Linked DNA regions of Homo sapiens: region 2 is linked to region 1. Evidence: promoter capture Hi-C in 16 types of primary human blood cells and fetal thymus (Javierre and others, 2016). All regions are on one chromosome and are shown on one strand. Each heading gives the region's core, a stretch centred on a gene start or on the middle of the fragment in contact. The rest is flanking DNA. Distances are from core to core; before and after follow the strand shown. Region 1 holds the start of PALLD (palladin, cytoskeletal associated protein). Region 2 overlaps NEK1 (NIMA related kinase 1).

Evidence for each region. Contacts are between HindIII fragments. The CHiCAGO score rates a contact against its expected background, and 5 or more counts as called.
Region 2: a contact is called between a fragment that was not itself captured here and the fragment with the promoter of PALLD in region 1, in 2 of 17 cell types (total B cells and naive B cells). The highest score is 10.7, in total B cells.

The regions. Positions count from the first base shown.
Region 1 is chr4:168,495,215-168,498,779 of GRCh38, reverse strand. PALLD (palladin, cytoskeletal associated protein) reads right to left here and starts at 1,728. Exons shown (of 22, transcript NM_001166108.2): 1 at 1,586-1,728. The region is part of intron 1 of LOC107986198 (a long non-coding RNA gene); the gene reads left to right. The HindIII fragment of the contact is 1,197 bases long and covers 1,337-2,533 here.
Region 2 is chr4:169,476,510-169,480,074 of GRCh38, reverse strand. NEK1 (NIMA related kinase 1) reads left to right here. Exons shown (of 36, transcript NM_001199397.3): 24 at 541-672; 25 at 2,578-2,643; 26 at 2,723-2,951. Among named protein-coding and RNA genes, the nearest start is that of NEK1, 130 kb to the left of the region's middle. The HindIII fragment of the contact is 1,224 bases long and covers 1,215-2,438 here.

The DNA of each region.
Region 1 (3,565 bases), core at 479-2,978:
TCTTCTCACTTAAATTCAAAACCTATTTACCAAATTTGCTTCTATATTCTCTAATATGATTTAACAGTTAGAAATTTTAGTCGAAGATACTTTGTTCAATCTTTGTTTTCTTTGCTGTAATTTCACCGGGACACAGTCATTAACTCTAGATGGCCTGAATTTCTAACTGGAGCTCAGTAATTGCAATACCCTTTGACAGCCTCCACACACATATTGTTTAAGAAGTGGAGCTCTTGTCTGGGCCTTGCAGATTCCACTTGGTATCTCTTAAAGAACTTGTCATATTTATTTTTAAACCTGAATAATGATTGCCCTCTACATTTTTAAAAAATGAGGTAAGGAGGTCAAAGTGATTGTACTTGTCCAGTGCAATCCAGATCCTCATTCTATTGTGAAATATGCTATAAGGCCAGTTTTAATATTCAGCTCTAGCAATAACAGAGAAACCCAGAGGAAGAGCTGACACAGAACCCCTGGGATACAGACCCTAATCCATACCAGATTCTAGGATGCCAGAGGACTAATTTATATTCTAGGAATGTGTAATCATGTATTTACAGGGCAGTTAGTGGCCAGATAAACCTCATCGGCCTTTTCTGCTGTTAGCAATAACTTGTCAAAGAGACTTTGATTTTAAAAATCTGAAAAAAAAATCTGAATAATTGAGGTGAGTATTCAAGTTCTTTCTGTGAGAAAAAACATTGGAAGGCACATTTATCATGAAATGAGGATTTAATTTCTGCATATATGTGATTGAATAGATTTGTAATAGTTTTATATTGCCAAGAAATGGCTTTATATGTCACCACATTATTCATACTAGAAGGCAATTAGTATTTTTAGCAAATGTTAATAAGTAATATGAGCCTGAAATCATTTTATGTCAACCTCCTATATTGGATTCAAGACAATTTCATGTGCAACTTAAAACAACATGATAAAAATTATTCTGTGATGTTTAAACTTGACTGGACTCGAGATTGCACTGTGGTTTCCCTTAGTAAGCGTTATCTTATTAAAAATATGTATGTAAATTTTATGCATGAATATAATTTAAAATACCTGCTGTTACTATCCCAACTCATTTAATTATGTCCAGTGAGTTACTTTTAGAATCTTTTGAAAGTGTAATTAACAATTTATAATGTTACTGAAATCTAAGGTCTATCACTTTAAGCCATCATCACTTATCTAGCTTAAATATGGGTGAGGGTCTAGAAAGCTGCGTTTTCCTTTTCTGTGAAACATAACACATACACGATCTTGACAAAAGCTGGCTCCATAAATACATTTAATCCTTTTGGAATTGATAGCACCATCTTAGCATGCTTAAGCTTATAACAGAAAGTGTAATTCTCTGACAGCAAAGGCAGAGATGAAGTGGGCAGGCAAATCTTACGTATTATCTGTTTTTGGCAAAACCGTAACATTCTCATTACGTTTCCTCTCCAAGCAAAAGAATAATTAAGGTATCTTGTAAATAGTATCATATCTTCAGAAAAACTTTTGTATTTTTAGTTTTTTTTTTTTTAAGTCCTTAAAATGTTGCCCTACTAGTTAGTATATTAAGATACACCTTACAGACCTTTTCAATGCTTGGTCAGTTTGAAGACTCCAGAGAGGTGATGAATTTCAGATGAGCATTTCTTCTTTTCTGGGAGAATGGAGGTTGTGGCCTTGCCTATTCATTAGAGACTGCCTGGTCCGTGGTCACTTTGAGGCAACTGTGGCCTCAGACTCTCATCTGTCCTCTTACTCCACTCAGCTATATTTGGTAACTGAGCTCATGTTTCAGCAGACTGCCACGATCAGGAATTCCAGCAGCGGGCTGGGAAGCACCCCCAGGACCGAGGGCTGGGTTCTTAGAAATAAAGCCACTTAACATAGAAGGAACTATATTTATGGATCTGATAAACGTAGGATTTAAACACATTCTTCTATACTTTGGACTTGTAGCTGGAAATCACCACCTGGACCTTTAACATGTTCTTAATCAATTTAAAGTACAGTATGTGACTCCAAGTAGAAAAAGTGATAATCCAAATGGAAGCTCTTCTTACTCTGATCTTCTGTTCTGTGCATTTAAATTTTGGTCATGTGCTAGATTACCCTAAAATAGTAAATTCAGTAACTGAAAATTTAGCCACCTGTCAAATTGAGTGGAAAGTCCCATTGTTCTCTTATTTCATATTGCTAATTAAAAATTGATATATGACTATGGTATGTATTAAAGGCCTTGTCTATAATAGTATTAAATAAGTATGAACACACAGGGACTGGATCTTATCCACATTGCAACATTGAGTTCTTAGCTCAATGCCTAGGACATCATGAGCATCTCTTAAATATTTGTCAAAGAAATAAATGAATGTTGAATGAATAATATTCAGGAAAAGTATCAACCCTCTTACAGTTGCAAAAAATGTTTCACAATCATTTAATATTTTGATCTTTCAAATGACAAATAGATATAGCAAGAGTTTAATATTTTGATCTTTTAAATAACAAACATAGATAGCAAGAAGAGAAAGCTTTTCTGTTTAAAGGTCAGGTAGCAGAATCAAATATAAGGGGGGCAAAAAGAGCAACACAAAAGCTCCCAGTTAACTTGGAAATGGGGTGCTGAGTCTTCCTTTGTCTGGGTAAGACCATCACATTTGATTCAGTTTAATATCTAAATATTTTTTCTTTTCTGATGTTAGAAAATTTGTGAAGGTCTGCTATTGTATTTTCTTTATAGGCCAAACTGGTCCTTTAGAAATGGTCCTTTCTGTGAGTGGATACTTCTGTGGGTCATTTCATCTATTATATTAATTAAGAAGTGATTTTAAAATTTATACTTACGGCTGGGCGTGGTGGCTTATGCCTGTAATTGCAGTACTTTGGGAGGCCGAGGTGGGTGGATCATGAGGTCAGGAGATTGAGACCATCCTGGCTAACACAGTGAAACCCCCTCTCTACTAAAAATACAAAAAATTAGCTGGGCGTGGTGGCGGGTGCCTGTAGTCCCAGCCACTTGGGAGGCTGAGGCAGGAGAATGGTGTGAACCCGGGAGGCGGAGCTTGCAGTGAGCCGAGATCCCATCACTGCACTCCAGCCTGGGTGACAGAGCGAGACTCCTTCTTAAAAAAAATAAAAATAAAAATAAAAAAATAAAATTTATACTTACAAGGAAATATAACTCTGATTGATTGTCTTAGTTTGTGTCATTATAACAAAATGCCACAGACTGGGTAATTTACAAAGAACAGAAATTGATTTCTCATAGTTCTGGAGGCTGGGAAGTCTAAGATCAAGGTGCCAGCAGGTTTGTTGTCTGGTGAAGTTCCTGTCTCTGCTTCCACAGTGATGCCTTGAGCACTGTGTCCTCACATGGCAGAAGGTGGAAGGGCAAGAGGGGGTCAAACTTCCTCCATCAAGCCCTAAGGGCATCAAATCCCATTCATGAGGAGTCCTCCTGAATCACCTTCTAAACGTTACACCTCCTGATACTGTTGCATAGGGGATTAGGAATCAACAAAAATTTTGAAGGGGACAAAAACCTTCAAACCATAGCATTGCTTAA
Region 2 (3,565 bases), core at 577-3,076, 980 kb before region 1:
GTTTAGAGTTTAAATGGCAACATAAAAACAAGCACATATGTTAATACAACATGATGTTTTCAGTGAAGTAAATCTTATTACCTGGATCTGTTTCTCCTTCCATTCTCATTTATGTTGGCATTTTTATGAGGGCTCTTATGTTGAGTAATTGATATTTGAACTTTGAGAAGATTGTACCCAAACCTGCAGGAATTACAAAAGCATTTCTTTTAGAAGTGTAAGATTAACAAAATCTTACACTTGAATCTTTAAAAGACAGTTTTTCAGGATCATTTCATGAAACATTGATAATGCAATGAAAGCGGGTTATTTAGGACTATGTGACATGACTATGTGTACATCTGAGACCAGAGATTTTTTTCTCTAGTCACTGCTGTATCCCCAGCATGTAGCATCATAATGCCTTGCTCAACAGATAATTCAGGAATGAAAAAAACTACTTGTGGATAGAGTGGATAAATAGTGATCTGGTAGGTACCATTTTATTTCTTCATACAAATATAAAATCCCTAATGTATTTAATAAAATCCTTTTTTATAGTTGGTGGCTAAAGGAGTTAAGAGTTCTGATGTTTCTCCACCTTTGGGACAGCATGAAACAGGTGGCTCTCCATCAAAGCAACAGATGAGATCTGTTATTTCTGTAACTTCAGCTTTGAAAGAAGTTGGCGTGGTAAGTTTCCTAAGATTCAGAACTCCTCAAAGTCAAAAGATTATTTAAAAGGAAATTAAATTTAATGAAATCACATTAATCCCTAATGTCCCTTTCAGGTTTTTCTAAGGAAAAAAATTACTTTTTAAGGGATTTTAGTTTACTCAGAATACTGGAGCCTCATTGTTTATAAGTTTTATATCTAGGACCACGTGGTAGATGAAAATATATCACAATAACTCTTATATTACTTTAAAAGAATATTGAAAAAATAAAATATACAGAGAAATGTACTGAAAATAATACTATAAACATTTTTCTACCCAACCCTCATGATTAACAAATGTTCACTTTAAAAAGAATAATGTCTCTTTGGTGCTAAAGTAGCTCTAGGTATTAGGTCCAACACATATTTACATTTATTCAAATTTTGTGACATGGCAAATGTTAGAGGACTCAGTAGAACTAGTTAATTCATCAGTTATTCCTTTTACCTTCTACTTCTGAATCTCTGTCATGCCCTACAGATAGTAAAACAAAGAAACATAGACAAATAAAAAGCTTAAACTTAGAAGTATATTTCAGGTATCTGTCTGAAGTGTGAAGACTGTTCAGGGGTTAAGAGAAGTGGGCTCATAGTGTGGAGCTGCGGCCTAGAATTCAACAGACAGGAGGAGAAAAGTCTACTGAATCAGATAACATAATAACTTCATTTTCCCCTTTCCTGGTAATGGATGTCTGTGCTTTTTATTTGTTTAGTTTCAGTAAATATTTGCAGACAAAATTGGTACACTAGCTGTTTTTTTTTATAGCCTTTGGGTTGATTTTGAAAATAAAACTCAGTAGGAAAATATAAGTTTCTTGATCATTCTCAAGAACTTCATGTAAGAAACTATTGTTCTTCAAGTAGGCTTAGTCACTTTTTCTTTCTGATAACGACTTTGCGTGTGCCACGTTGTTACTCCAACTTTAGATACCACTGTGTGGTCCCTCCTTGGTACCCAGTCTCACATCTCAATAGCTGTTCATCTCTCTGGTTGTAGGACTGCTAATTCCTGACTACTTTACTGGGTAAAATGTTCTTTGTCTCATTGCTTCATATATTACTTTGAAACTGACCACCAAATTTTTAATTTTTTTTAAGTATTACAAAATTCGAGGTAATCCATATAACTGAACGGTTTTCTTTCTGTGTTGTGTTGGTAAATGTCACTTACTTAAAACTTAGAAAATTGTTCTTTGAATCTTCTACATGCCTTTGCTTTCATAGCTTTCGTAACTGCTAATTTCTTCTTTTCGTATGTTTTTTAATTTTAGATAGTCTGGATTGCTTTGACAATGCTAATTAGGAGATAACATTTATGTCATTTGTAGTACAAATGACTCAGAACTAATTTTTGTTACACTCTTTGTTTAGGGAGGAAAGCCACTTCTCAATTACATTTAGTACTATGGCTTAACAAGGATATATATACATGAAACATAAAGACAGTTTTAGAATAACACAGCCTATTTTGAATTACTTCATCTATCAAAACTTTTTCTAGTTATAATTAAGAGAGTATATGAATTTTCCTCTAATTTCTACTTTTTCCTCTAATTTCTACTTTTTCCTCTAATTTTCTGACTTAAATTACCAAAAAATCAGGTACCAAAGAGGAAGAGGATATAGTTAATTATGTGAGCAGTAATCTAAAAATATGACAAATAATTGAGAATTGGCCCCTGTCTATGTTGTCTAATTAATAATATTTAAAGGTTAGTCATTGCTGATAATGAAGGAAGCTTTGTTAACATTTTATAGGAATAAAAAATTTACAAGGAACAAATTAATGAAAACCAAAAAGTAACGAGGATGTAATATTTTTAAAGGTAGATTTAAAAAAATAAAATTATCTCTTCCTCTGTATCTATCTGCATTTAAAGGACAGTAGTTTAACTGATACCCGGGAAACTTCAGAAGAGATGCAAAAGACCAACAATGCTATTTCAGTAAGTAAAATTTTCAAAGTTTATCAATCATTTTACTTAATGATATACATATTAAAATATATAATGTCGTGACTTTCAGAGTAAGCGAGAAATACTTCGTAGATTAAATGAAAATCTTAAAGCTCAAGAAGATGAAAAAGGAAAGCAGAATCTCTCTGATACTTTTGAGATAAATGTTCATGAAGATGCCAAAGAGCATGAAAAAGAAAAATCAGTTTCATCTGATCGCAAGAAGTGGGAGGCAGGAGGTCAACTTGTGATTCCTCTGGATGAGTTAACACTAGATACATCCTTCTCTACAACTGAAAGTATGTATAGTAGTATATTAATATCCTATTTAGGTCTAGTACATATGTAAACTTATAGACTAACCACTCTGAAAAAAATGAACACTTAGAAGAATTGAGAGAAGCTGAAAGAATTCTATATATTTTCCTTTTGGGCGAATAGAAGTGCCTCCCTCTCACAGTGAAATGTGAAGAGCAGAGAAAACTAATCAAACTAATCAGCCTTAATAGCAAGGATTTTTATTACAAAAGTGTATAGTGTGAGAGAGGGAACTAATGATACATATTTAAATTGCATTACTTTAACTCTGTATACCATGTTAAATTAATCTGTTACTATGAATAATTCTTGATGAGAACCAGGGTAGTGTCTCAGAAACATCTCTTAGGCATTTAGCGAGAGTATTGAGAAAATCTGACTTAATGATTTATATATTCGGTGATAATTACTGAGAATCTATATTTCTTACATTGTTCTAGGAATTGGAGATATAGGAACAAAACAGAAACATATGTGCTCTTGTGGAGCTTACATTCTAGAAGGGCAAGTCTGACCATCAACAAATCTGATTTTAAGTAATTTTTTTCACAGACTGTTTTTGTAGAATTTTTTCTTGCATTGGAAAAAAGCCCAA